Regions from separate parts of the Homo sapiens genome. Here regions 1 and 3 are each linked to region 2. The links are contacts of gene promoters, found by promoter capture Hi-C in human tissues and cell types (Jung and others, 2019). All regions are on one chromosome and are shown on one strand. The core of a region is centred on a gene start or on the middle of the fragment in contact, and the rest is flanking DNA. Distances in the headings are between cores, read along the strand shown. Region 1 holds the start of TPM2 (tropomyosin 2). Region 2 holds the start of CCL27 (C-C motif chemokine ligand 27). Region 3 overlaps GBA2 (glucosylceramidase beta 2).

What was found. Contacts are between HindIII fragments. The study calls those that stand out against the background at their distance.
Region 1: the fragment with the promoter of TPM2 here is called in contact with the fragment with the promoter of CCL27 in region 2 in 1 of the 25 tissues and cell types used here (stomach).
Region 3: a contact is called between a fragment that was not itself captured here and the fragment with the promoter of CCL27 in region 2, in 1 of the 25 tissues and cell types used here (dorsolateral prefrontal cortex).

What each region holds. Positions count from the first base shown.
Region 1 is chr9:35,687,464-35,691,872 of GRCh38, reverse strand. It overlaps TPM2 (tropomyosin 2), which reads left to right and starts at 1,948. Exons shown (of 9, transcript NM_003289.4): 1 at 1,948-2,169; 2 at 2,602-2,727. The coding sequence starts at 2,056. RefSeq lists a silencer at 531-610 and an enhancer at 3,506-3,983. The HindIII fragment of the contact is 5,966 bases long and covers 1-4,350 here.
Region 2 is chr9:34,661,331-34,665,527 of GRCh38, reverse strand. It overlaps CCL27 (C-C motif chemokine ligand 27), which reads left to right and starts at 2,871. Exons shown (of 3, transcript NM_006664.4): 1 at 2,871-2,964; 2 at 3,112-3,244; 3 at 3,449-3,638. The coding sequence starts at 2,895. The coding sequence ends at 3,584. IL11RA (interleukin 11 receptor subunit alpha) reads right to left here. Exons shown (of 13, transcript NM_001142784.3): 13 at 3,626-4,046. The coding sequence ends at 4,030. It overlaps LOC730098, which reads left to right. Exons shown (of 3, transcript NM_001320038.2): 2 at 155-214; 3 at 338-1,365. The coding sequence ends at 494. RefSeq lists a silencer at 1-158. The HindIII fragment of the contact is 14,352 bases long and covers 1-4,197 here.
Region 3 is chr9:35,742,973-35,747,484 of GRCh38, reverse strand. GBA2 (glucosylceramidase beta 2) reads left to right here. Exons shown (of 17, transcript NM_020944.3): 2 at 2,779-2,870; 3 at 3,073-3,188. Among named protein-coding and RNA genes, the nearest start is that of GBA2, 4.0 kb to the left of the region's middle. The HindIII fragment of the contact is 5,426 bases long and covers 1-4,512 here.

The DNA of each region.
Region 1 (4,409 bases), core at 699-3,198, 1.0 Mb before region 2:
TATACCATATTAAGAAATGTGGATTTTTTTTTTCTCCTCAAAACAGGCAGGGTGCCCGCACGCCTGTAATCCCAGCTACTCAGGAGGCTGAGTCGGGAGGATCACTTAAGCCCATAAGTTCAAGACCAGCCTGGGCAATCTAGCAAGCTCCCGTCTCAAAAAAGGTGGGGGGACAGGGATTAGGGAGGGGTTTTGGAGAATTTTAGATAATATTCGCATTAACTTTTAAAAAGATATTTGACAACAATGTCATGGGACAGTCAAATGAATGAATGAGTTGAGGAACTAGAAGTAAGACTACAAAACAGACTGAAGAAAACATAAGGCGCGGCCAGAGGCCAGCCCAGACCGACCCGAGGAGGAACCTCCTTGGTAGAAGGCAGCCTCTCCAGGATTAGGTGGTTGTGAGACGCGAAGGGCAGGGGATACCCAGTGGTCTAGCATAGGCTACTGGTGGATGAGGCGTCTTCCACGGAGTTAGAGGAACACTGCGAGGTCAGGCCAGGGTTGCTCTCCGTGTGGCTAGCAGGCAGCTAAACAGATCTGAATGCATTTCCACGCCACCTCCCCACCGCCCCGGCCAGCGGCCTCGGGTTCCCACGGTCCCCAGCCCACTGCAAAATCCAGGCCTCCCGCCCCTCTATGACTGGAGGGTGGGGGCGAGGCTAGCAGCTCCCTCCCGGCTTCCTCCGCTTGTTCTCTCCTCCCCTTCCCCCTCCTCCCGGCGGCTCTCCACTTCCTTTCCCCCCACCCCACCCCAGGGAAAAACGAAAACAAACACCCTCGCGCCTCGCGCCTCCGACTCCCAGACCCCACGACCCGGCTCCGGCGCTGGTTTGGCGGCCTGGGTGGGAGAAGGCACCTCGCCCCGGACCCCCTATGCCCCGCAGCTCAGTGACTCTTCCCCTCGCCCTCCGCCTTCCCCGCCGCAGCCCGGCTCCGCCTCCCAATGGGGAAACATCCCAAAAAAGGGCAGAAAAGAAATTTCAGCATAAAGTTGGCCCACTGGGAAAGAGAGGAGCGTCCGCGGGGAGCGGGGGAGAAGAGGGAAGGCGCGCGGAGGGGAGTGGGGCCAGGCGGAGCCAGGGGCGGGGAGCGGAGGGGCTCGGGACGCGTCCGGGTGGGAGCGGGGGCGGGGAACGCGCGGTGACCAGCCTGGCCGCAGCCGCGTGGAAAATATGCGGGGCACGTGGGGGGCGGGGCGGGGAGCTGGGTCCTGAGCCGCCGGGTGCTCGCAGGAAGGGCCTGGCTCCAGGGGCAGGGGCTGGGAGGGGAGGCGAGGGGATGAGAGGTCAGGCCGGTCCTGGGGGCAGCAAGCCCGGCCACACTCCCCACCGCGACCGGGGCTCTGGGCTCGCTTCCTGCTTCAGTTTCCCCAAGCTCCCGATGAGACTCCGCTACTACCACCACGTCGATAACGCAAACCTAGAGGGACTCAGGGTAAACTGAGGCACTCAAACTGCCGAGGAGCTCCGCCTCCCGAGAGACATTTAATCCGGGGGGATTTGCAGGAAACTTCTAAATTAAGGGTAGCGGCTGCTGCAGCTGAGGGGGGGCACGCCGGTCCCTGCGCCCGGGCAGCTGCCGTGAGCTCACGCCCCGAAATAGCCCCAGGGGCCCCAGCCGCAGCTGCCACTGGGTCCGGCTGTCACTCAGAGGAAGCACGGAGCCCCCAGCCCAAGGGTCCCCTCCCCTTCGCATCGCCGGGGTTTTTCCAGCCGACCGTCGGCCACTTTTTCCTCCGACGGCTGGCAGGGAAGAGGGGGATGGGGGCGGGACCCCAAGGGAGGCGGTCCCCAGTGGGTGGGCGAAGGGGGCGGCCGCACCCCCCGGCCGGGCCGTGCTTCTGCCCCTACAAGGTTTGGGCCGAGGTGGGGGAGGGTCCTGGTTGCCGGCCCCGCCCGGTCCCTCCCCGCCTTTTAGGCGCCCGCGTGGCCGGGACGTCCCAGTCCCGCTCCGTCCTCCTCGCCTGCCACCGGTGCACCCAGTCCGCTCACCCAGCCCAGTCCGTCCGGTCCTCACCGCCTGCCGGCCGGCCCACCCCCCACCGCAGCCATGGACGCCATCAAGAAGAAGATGCAGATGCTGAAGCTGGACAAGGAGAACGCCATCGACCGCGCCGAGCAGGCCGAAGCCGACAAGAAGCAAGCTGAGGACCGCTGCAAGCAGGTTAGGGCCGGGCCCAGTGCAGCCTGCTCTCCCCGCGCCTAGGGCAAGGGTGGGCCGCTGCCATGGGTCCCCCAGCCCCGGGCCTGCCCGCCAAGGCTCTCTCTCACCCAGGGTGGGGGCTGGGCCTTCGCAGTACCCTCAGGGCCTTCGCCAGAGCCGCTTCTCTCCCCTACAATAGCCTGGGGAAGCCCCAGGCCCCTGGTTTCCACTCTGCCTTTGCAGAGCGCGGTTGGTCCTGCTCCTTGGGGCCTGAAGTTTTCTCTGTACCCTCAACGGGTCCCACCAGTACCCTTGACTGTACTGTCCCTTTTATGTTATTCCGCTTCCATCCCAGTAGCCTCCAAATCTTAGTAGCGCCCCTACACACACCGCGTCTCCATTCTGGGCCTGGGCCCCCTCCCAGCCTGGCTGACCAAGTCCCCTCTGTCCCAGCTGGAGGAGGAGCAGCAGGCCCTCCAGAAGAAGCTGAAGGGGACAGAGGATGAGGTGGAAAAGTATTCTGAATCCGTGAAGGAGGCCCAGGAGAAACTGGAGCAGGCCGAGAAGAAGGCCACTGATGTGAGTGTGGACTTGGGGGACAATGGGAGGAGTTAGGGCTCTGGGAAGGGGCCCCCCGGGTATGGGAATAAGAGGATTGGGGCACCTTATCCCCTTATGTCCCCAGCGCCAGGAGAGAAATGGTTTCATCTCAGTAACCAGGGCTAGGGTAAACTTACACAAGTAATCCAAGACAGTGGATAAATCAAAACCACCTACCACTTCCCCCAGAGGACTTAGCCCTGTAATTCTGTTTGGTTCCAGCTTTTAGAATGTACAGTGATCAAGCAATGAGTCATTGTGGGGGTGGAAGGTATAAGAATTTACCATCTACCTCAATTAATCCTCCAGCTGAAATTGGAGAGGAGACTGCAGCCGTTTGGGGATGGGGGGATGTGGATGTGAGGTACTAGCCTGCAGGAGGAGGGAGAGGGATCCAGAGATGAGACCCCACTTGAGTTACAACCCTAAGGGGCCATTAGAAATTCCCTGGCCTTGACCTCTGGCTTCAGCAGCCCTGCTGTGCCCTGGGGCCCCAGCTCAGGTTCTAATGGCTCCTCATTTACCCTCATTAAGCTGTCAGCCTGGAGACCATGCCAGGCCACAGGGCAGAGGGACAGGGCCACAAATGCCAAAGCAGCTACCTTGGCAGGTCATTTACCCTGAGATTTCTCTGCCCACCCCACAACCCCAACCAGACTTCACTTCCTGCCATTCCCAACCCCCAGCTTAAGGTAGGAGAATGGCCATATGGCTTTGGTGTGGTGGTAGTTTCCCCATTCTCTGCCTCAGTTTCCCCATCTTCCTTCCACCCAGGATTGTTTTAAGATGAACCTATGGTTAGATTAGCATAAAGCATGGTCTGAACATCAGAGATGACATAGCTGTTTGTGTCGACTGCTCATGTTCCCAGCCCCCCAGGGGTTGGGCTTCTGTGACCTCCAGCCTCCAGTTTTGGTTCTCCACCAGTCCTGGCACTTGGGAGGGAGCTGACCTGCAGCTGCTAGCACAGACAACCCTGGGCATCTGACACTCTATAAATAACCAAGGCCCAGTGCAGCTGGAGGCAAGATTGGAAACCCAAGTTGCTGGTGGGGGCTGGAGGGGCAGGGGGGACAGGGACAGAGCTGGGGAGGCAGAGCCGCAGCACCAGGAGCAGATAGGAAAGACTGCCCAAGCTTCCTGGTGACCTTGAACACAGCACTCAACTTACATGGTGCCTCAGTTTCTCCCTCTCTCTTGCTTCCCATTTTTCTAATGGGGACAGTAGTGCCTGTCCTGTGGTTAGAGAGCCGCCCCCGTAACTGGGAAGAGCTTGAGAGGCAGGAAATGGCACATATCAGTCCCATGATGAGGACCCCAGGACTTCCCAAACTTTCCAGAGTCTTTTGTCACCCCACCATCATGCAGAGTTTTTCTTTTACAGTCTCACCTCTCTCTAGGGTAGTACTCCAATGTCCCCCACAGTGATTCTTCCCAACCCCCAATGCTGTCCCCAGAATGCTTCCACACTGTCATCCGGCCCTGTGCCCATGATGGGCTCTTGTCACTCTAGGTGGCCAAGCTCCAGGTGCCTTCAGCACCTGGAAGACAAGCTACCATCTACTCTCTATATATGGTGCTGTTTCTCCTGCCCTACAGTCCGACCAAGGACCTGCTTCCTATGCTGTGTCCAAGTGCTGCCCCCAGCCCCTCCCCCCACC
Region 2 (4,197 bases), core at 1,622-4,121:
AGGGCGAGCCTCCCAGGGGCGTGGGCGCGAAGGGAGCCGCTTTTAGAGGCGGGGCGGAGCCTTCCTCGACGGCGAGGCACCGCGGGGCGGAGTCTGTAGGGTCAGCTCCTCCCCGCCCCGCCCCGCCCCGCCCGGCTCTGCCCTCTCTCTGCAGGATCTACTGGGGCTGTTTCTACTTTTTCCCCTGGCTTCGCATGTGGCGGAGGGAGCGGAGGTGAGGAGGCTGCGATACCGCGGACCCGCCCCGGGCATGGACGGGACTCAGTCTCTGAGGACCCATCGGGGGGAATCCGGTAGCTCCCGCCCCGCCTCATGCCAGTGTCGGGTCGCCCCACAGCTCGGCGCACCCCGGGGAGCAGAAGCTGGAGCCTCTGCGAGGCCTGATGAGCTGTCTGTCCAGCGGCCTGGGTCCTACTCCCCAGCGCTCGGGTCGTGGCTTCCCCCGCCGCAGCCCCACCGCCGCTGCCCAGCCAGCCAGTGCATTAAAGATTTAAACCGAAGCCCACCGTACTGACCTCCTGACTCTGCCGCCGCTGTCGCCATTCGAGCCGAGCGCCCCTCCCCACACGGGCTCTGTTCCGTACTGACAGGGCGTCCCTCCCTGGAAGGGTGCCCTTCCACGTCAAAGCCCCTCATCAGTGTCAGGCCTCCTGTTACTATCAATGGCTGTCTCCCCCAATCCCAACCCCCAAAAACCCATACTGTGAGTCGCCTATATGAAGAGAACTAAATAATCCTGCCTGTTACTCCCTTCCTCGGAGCGAGGACTTTGCCAGCTGTCTGAAGAATCTTCTCTGCTGGGAGTATATCTAAAACATTTTAAGCAGAGGTGTAGGATGCAGGCTGTAAATGGTAAGAGGGGGAGATTCCTAGAAGCTGCCTGCCACAGAGGAGCGACTTGGGTTGGCGACCTTTCCTACAGTTCATACCCCAACTTTTGGCTCCTCCAGTCTGATCCCAAGTTTAGAGATCCTTGGCATCAGCCTACCTAGAAGTTCTTGCTCCCTCCCTAGGAGAGTCCAAGGGCCACTGCTCTTTGCCGCCCCCTTCTGTCACCCAATCAGCCTGGGACCCACTAACTCCTCAAGTGGTGAGAATCAGGGACTGCTATGTGGGCCTGCCTTCAGTTAGGGACTGGACCCAGCACCAGAAAGGGCACCACAAGATTAAGTTAAAGAAAGAGATGGCCCAGTTTCTGGCTGGGGCCAAAGCTACAGCAGATTGTGGCTGGGGAGAAGACTTGGTCTTAAAGGGGAGAGATGGGTGCACACCCAAAAGCATTTGTTTTCTGCCTTCCGAAGACTTCTGGACCGACAAGCCCAGGGAAGACCAGAAAGTATGTAGCGCACAGCCAAGTGATGAAGAAGGTCTATGACAAGCCCGAGGAACCTGGGAGATTTCCTTGGGATTTCCTCAGTGGCTACACCCAACAAGCCTTGGGACACAAGAGAAAGGCCTAAGCCCTATCCCAAGAGAAAGCCTACTCCATAGAGAGTGGCTGACCCTACAGCAGACGACTGCAACAAGATAAGGGCTGGATTACTGTGTTATGACTTGGTTTATGTTTCAAATATAGAGCAGGACTTGCAGATTGAGATCCCTGGACCAGGAGTGGGAAATTCTTAAAGGAGCCAGGGGCACTGAACTTGGCAGCATACCCCCACCCTAGGCAGCTCCCAGCTTCCTGGAAAGGACTGGATAAAGATGAATAGGAGCTTTGCATTGCAGGGAGGGGGTAAAGAACGGAGTGACAGCTGGGTATGGGATTAGGAGAGAAGCGGCTATAGCTGGAGGGTGGGATGCAGGGGGTATAGCAGTTGGACATGAGGGTGTGACTGAACCCGGGTAGGGAGAGGGGATGTTCCTCCAGGCCCAGGAAGGAGGCTGGAATTTGAGTAAAACAAAGATGTAATTGAGTGCTTGAGTCCAATGTCTTCAACAAGTCAGGGACTGGATCTGGAGACCCTAGGCCCCTGCTGGCAAGAGGTTGGCATTCCTGGAACAGGACTAGACAAAAACAGGAAGGTAAGATTCACTGGGCCTTTTACCTGTTTTGACAACAGTAACCTAGCACCAAAGAGCTTTTATCTTCCCTCCTTATCTACCCCACCTTTCCTCCCTGTCTCATCATCCTGGGGAAAGCTGCCCCACCTCAGCATCTCCAAAACACCCTTAATATTACCATAAAGGGCCTTCCCCCAGCTTCTCTGAATGGGGCTGGCCTCAGCCAAGAACCCTCCTCAGCCAGAAGGGCCTGCTCTAGGGACCCATTCCCATCCATTTCTTCTGATAAGACAGGCAGGCCAAGCCAGGAAGTGGGGAGGAGAAGGTGAAGGCAAGTTGGTGCTTGCCTGCCCTCTGCTCCCACCCCACCCACAACTCCCCTGTCAGAATCTGTGTGTGCTAGTGTGAATTTGCTTGTGATTGGATGACTGTGAAAACACAATTGGGTGGGAGAGGGACTTTGAGTATAACCGGGGCTATATAATTTTGTCTACGGTTGTCTGATCATGAGTATGACTTTGTGAGGTTGACCAAGTGATTGAGGAGTGACTTTGAATGTGTGGCTATGCGTATTTGAGTGTGAATGTCTATCATTAGATGCTGCTGTGGATGCTTGACTGCCCTTACTCACTGTTCCATCAGTCCCTACATCACACACTAATCCTTCCCCCAGCTTCACTGCCCAGAGCTTAGGAGCACATGGGAAATGGCTATCCTAGATGAGGAAGGAGTCTGTGGCAACAGGCCGAGAATTAGGGCCCAGGAGTGTCACAGGTTACACAGTACATCTCCAACTGCCTCTGACTCACCTAGTGCCCCAGGTAAAAGGCACCCAGATAAAAGGTAGGGGAGGAGGAGAGAGAGAGAAGGAAGAGTCTAGGCTGAGCAACATGAAGGGGCCCCCAACCTTCTGCAGCCTCCTGCTGCTGTCATTGCTCCTGAGCCCAGACCCTACAGCAGGTGAGTACTTGGGGGTATAGAAAGCTGGGGGTCTGGGTGAATGGGATGAAGTTGAAAAGACCCAGGAAATCCAACCTAACCTCCAGCTGTCTGGCAGAGAGGTTCTTGGTCAGGATCCCTCTGAACACATGGCCCTGTTGCCCCTAGCATTCCTACTGCCACCCAGCACTGCCTGCTGTACTCAGCTCTACCGAAAGCCACTCTCAGACAAGCTACTGAGGAAGGTCATCCAGGTGGAACTGCAGGAGGCTGACGGGGACTGTCACCTCCAGGCTTTCGTGTGAGCTCCCACCCCTGATACCCCTGACTCTGACCTCAGTCCCAACCCCTAATGCTGATCCCAACCCCAGCCCTAACTGCTAATTCTGTTGCCAACTCAGGTTTTCATCTGGTCCTTGCTCCTAACCCCTAATTAGGGTCATTGGGGATGACCCTAATCTCATCCCCAAGCTATGGTCATAGCTTTGGACCTTTCTCTACCCAGGCTTCACCTGGCTCAACGCAGCATCTGCATCCACCCCCAGAACCCCAGCCTGTCACAGTGGTTTGAGCACCAAGAGAGAAAGCTCCATGGGACTCTGCCCAAGCTGAATTTTGGGATGCTAAGGAAAATGGGCTGAAGCCCCCAATAGCCAAATAATAAAGCAGCATTGGATAATAATTTCTGAGTATAATCTCCAAGAACTTCCTTATTCTCTTTATTCACACCTGCACAACCCCTGCAAGGGGAAAGGCCAAGAGCCAAGGACCCACACACACTCCCCAGGCACCTACATACATGCATGCAGAGAATACATGTTCCCTGCCTCACAGACACATGGTCACACATGGACACAGATGTACACATTACACACGTTCCTTGAGCAGAACTCCAACTCTGGGGTGAAATCAGAGGTACAAGCACCTTTCAGCTGCAAATTTGAAATACAGGGTCTCACAGAAATGGGCTCCAAACAGAACTTCCAGCTGAGATCCAACCATAGGGATCTACTGTCCTGCCTGGTTTCTATCCACACCAGCAAGACAGAATTATAGGTGGAATCTGCCGAAGCCCTCCTGGGTCCTCTACAGGTTTGGAGCTCCTAGAAGAAGCAGGAGGCAAATCAGGAGAGACAGTAAGACCGGATCTTGGCCCAGACACCCTGAGAATGAGGGAGGTGACTCAGTTCTAAGCTTAACACTCTGAAGATGAGTAGAGGAGCCCAGCTCTGAGGGAGCCTCTTCAACACACTG
Region 3 (4,512 bases), core at 608-3,107, 1.1 Mb before region 2:
TCAGTTATCTAACCCTAGCCCTGGGGAGTGGGAAGGGCCTGATGCTGCCTGCACATCTGGCTTTGTTGGTGCCTGTGGGTAGCCTGTAGCAGAGAAGAATCATCCCTCCAGGCTGCTTCTGGAATCAATTCAGTCCAAGTTTGACCCCAAAAGTTTTTGCATCAAAATAGGATCTAGTGTACATAGAGAAGTACACTGAGTTGCATGTGGTAGGAACAATGAGATCAAGAAAAGATGGGCATCCTAGCCTCTTAGCCCTTAAATATGAACTGAGTCATAGAGGCCTGAAGCTGTGCTCAACCCCCTGGACCCTGGCTCCCCATTCCAGGATAGAGTGGGGGGTACTGATACAAGGCTTTTGGAATAGGATGAGTTCCTATGAGGAGAAAGCACAGGTGAGACAAGAATTCTAAGTGATAACTCTTGAGTTGAGGTTGAAATTGTGGAGAAGGCCAAATAGGTCAGGAATGGCCAGCTACCATATTAAGGGAGTAAGAGAGCTCCTAAGATGGAGCTGAACTGTGGGCACTCTGACCAGGAGCTCTAGCAAGACAGAATTCTCTGGGTCTTACCTTCGTAAGAACTCAATTTCAATTGTTCTCCCTTCCAGCCAGAGTCCACTCATTCAATAAATATTTATTGAGTGCTTGTTCCATGCCAGATAGTCCTTTGTTCTGTCTGTCCTCATAGATTGCAGTTACTCTCCCTGGTTGCCCTAATCCTCGGCCACACCCTCCCTCTACCAGTCCTTTCTGGTCTCTAGTTTCAAAGTCCGGTTTTCTCTAAGCTGGCAGAGAGGATTCTCTGCCTTCCTGTCATCCCATCCTTTGTCTTCCCTCTTCTTTCCACCCCTAGAATGTGCTGTCCCTTTTTATTTTATTATTATTTTTTTTTTGAGACAGTCTTGCTCTTGTCACCCAGGCTGGAGTACAATGGTGCAATCTCAGCTCAGTGCAACCTCCGTCTCCTGGGTTCAAGCGATTCTCCTGCCTCAGCCTCCTGAGTAGCTGGGATTGCAGGTGCCTGCCACCACAGCTGGCTAATGTTTTTGTATTTTTAGTAGAGACGGGGTTTCACCACATTGGCCAGGCTGGTCTTGAACTCCTGACCTCACGTGATCCGCCCACCTCGGCCTCTCAAAGTGCTGGGATTACAGGTGTGAGCCACCGTGCCTGGCCGCTGTCCCTATTCATTAATCACATTTCTTCTCCTCTGCTCCAGTCTGTTATCTCTCTTGTGCCCCATCATTTGTATGTTCATTCATCTGTAAAATTGGCAAATATGCATTGACTGCAGACCATATGTCCTACCCTGTGCTTGGACCTGAGGGTAATATTCAGCTAGTCTTTGTCATTGTCCCTTTCCCCAAGGAACTTAAAAGTATGTCAGCCTCACATGAGGAACATTGAAATAACAAGGCAATGTCTGATTAGGAATTGAGATAACAGTTTGTATATATGAGTAATAATCATACCTGTACTTTATGGCTTTCTTATCTATTATGTCATTTGATCTTTCAACCATTTCATTAGATAGCTAGAGCAGGTGGTATCCCCATTTTGTAGATGAGGAAACTGGGACTTAGGGGTTACTTACCCAATTATTTGGTTAGAAGTGGTGTGACTGAACAGTAGGCATAATGTGGCAGTAGGCAGGAGAGTGGAAATGGGAAAGAGTCTGGCAGGGCAGGGGCTACTTAGTGAGGACCCATCTGGAATGAGAATTTGTAGGAAATAAGATTAGAAGATAGGCTGGGACAGATGTCAGAGCCTTGAAAACAGAATCGTTTGCCTATTGAAAACAGCCTCAATCATTTGCCTCTTGGATATAGGGCTGTACCAAGCCCAGGAAAATGTTGGGATTTTTTGAAGGCTTTACCAAGAGCAAAATCAGAAAGCTTCACAGTTTAAATGTTGAATTTAAAAAAAAAAAAAAAAAAGGCTTGAGAGGAAATGTCCAGAAATAAATATAAACACTGATTGTCTATGGGTGAGATTATTTTTTTCCCCCTTTCACCTTTCATAATTAGAAAGAAAAATGATCATTTTAAAAAGAAGAAAGGCCAGAAGCGGTAGCTCACGCCTCTAATCCCAGCACTTTGGGAGGCCGAGGCGGGCGGATCACCTGAGGTCAGGAGTTCAAGACCAGCCTGGCTAACATGGTGAAACCCCATCTCTACTAAAAACACAAAAAAATGTGCCAGGCATGGTGGCGGGCACCTGTAATCCCAGCTACTTGGGAGGCTGAGGCAGAAGAATTTCTTGAACTTGGGAGGCGGAGTTTGCAGTGAGCCAAGACCGAGCCACTGCACTCCAGCCTGGACAACAAGGAACGAAACTCTGTCTCAAAAAAAAAATAATAAATAATAAAAATAAAGATAAGAAAGTTATTCCCAGCAGCCTATGCCTGTTTTGGAGGTAGGGGATTGGGGGCGGAGGCTGTAGGCCAGGAAACCATAAATGGTCCTTTCAGCACGTCAGACAGAAGCTCCTGATGTTGGAAATAAAGCAGTGGTGGTGGTGCTAGAGAGGTAAGGAGAGATCAGAAAGCCCCTTCTGAGGAGAACAAAGGAGAGAAACAAAGCCACTCCTTCACTTCAGCTGGGGTGACTGGGAAGATGAAGGGACCTTGAACTGTATAGAAATCAAGAGGAAGAAAGGTTTGAAAGCAGATGTCCTTGGGACATTTAATGGGAGGTCACAGAGAGAGGCAGGTGACTCAGCCTGTGAACAGCTGCCCACCTGCCCCCTTCCACTCACATTGCCTCTTGCTCCTCAGGTACCTGCAGTGGTGGTACCGGAAGACCCATGTGGAAAAGAAGACACCTTTCATCGACATGATCAATTCTGTACCCCTAAGACAGATTTATGGTGAGCCCCACCCCATCTCTGCTCTGCTCAGAGAAGGCCTAGCCTCCAGGTCTACCACAGTTAGGAAGAGACTTCCAGCTTATGCAAATTGCACTGTTCCATCCCCTAGGTTTTCAGAGGAACCAGGCTTTATAGTCTAGAAAGTTAGAAATGGGCTTATTTTCCTCTCCCAATACCCCACTAACCACCCTGATTTCTCTAGGTTGTCCCTTGGGTGGCATCGGGGGAGGCACTATTACCCGTGGCTGGAGAGGCCAGTTCTGTCGTTGGCAGCTTAACCCTGGAATGTATCAGCACCGGACAGTCATCGCTGACCAAGTAAGAGCCAGGAGGTGGAGAGGCCAGGACAATACCTCCCCAGGCCAAGAAGGAAGGACCTCTTGGCTAGTGTAGAAGGTAGCAGTTAGATGTGAATAAGATTCAATCTAATAAGTACTCTCGGGATGCTTCCTGTGTGCCCAGCCCTGAGCTAGGATATACCGTAGGAATAAGACACACACAAGCACACATTCCTTGAAAGAGTAAACAGATCTGGCATTTCTCTAGTAAATGCCTCCTGTCTACCTCACTGCCCCAACCCAACTAGCTGAGGCAGCCCCCAACCACAGAGAATGCAGAGAATTCCCAAATCACTTAACCTGCCTGAAAGAACATTTTGTAGGACTGGAAGGGAAAAGAAAACCCAAAGTCTATAAACTCATGGGAAAAAAAGACACGTAGTACAAGGTTCCTCACCCTGATTGAGGAACCTTCACCAAAGTTCAGCTCCTCTGCTGATCACTCCCCTGGAGGTCTCCTGGCTTAGGGTCTAAAAAGCTCCTTCTCTCCCAGGCTTAGATCTCTAGCCTTCTTCCCTCTTCTGAAGCTTCACTTTTTTCCTTTTGCTCCTGCATCACATCTGGGCCTTAAATTGCCAGAAGTATGTGTCCTGCCTCTCATCATCTCTCTCTAGTTGACCGCCCCTTTAGAGTTGCCTAGGAAGTTCCTCTTTCTTGGCTCCAGCATTCAGCCTCATCTTCAAAGGAAAAATGACTAGCAAATCTTTAGTCCAATTAATGACAATACCCTTCCTGGTTCACGTTTACCAGCCCTGCCCATGTCCCAAGATCCCTCTCTGCCTCATCCCTTAGGTATCCTGAGGGGAATGGCTTCCAGAATTGTGACTCTACAATTAAAGTAATTATTGCATGCTTAACATGTGCTAGACACTGTGCTAGGCTCTTTGTATACTGTTTAATATTAAAAACAATCCTACAAGGGAAGTACCACTATTATGCTCATTTTGCAGATGAGGACACTAAGATCCAGAGAGGTTTAGTAACATGCGCAAGGTCACAAGGTTGGTAAATGGAAAGGTTGGGATTCAGAACCATTTCTTTCTGGGGTGAAGAGCTTGTGGTCTTAACCATTATGTACCATTCCAACAAAATGAAAAATTATTTTATACAGTTGTCCCTCAGTATCCATGGGGGGTTGGGCCCAGGACCTGCTATCCGAGGATGCTCAAGTCTTTGATTTGAAATGGCTTATAGTATTTGCAAATAACCATTGCACATCCTCCTATATACTTTAAATCATCTGTAGATTACTTATAATACCTCATACATTGTTACATAAACCCTTGTTGTGCCGTACAGTAAAT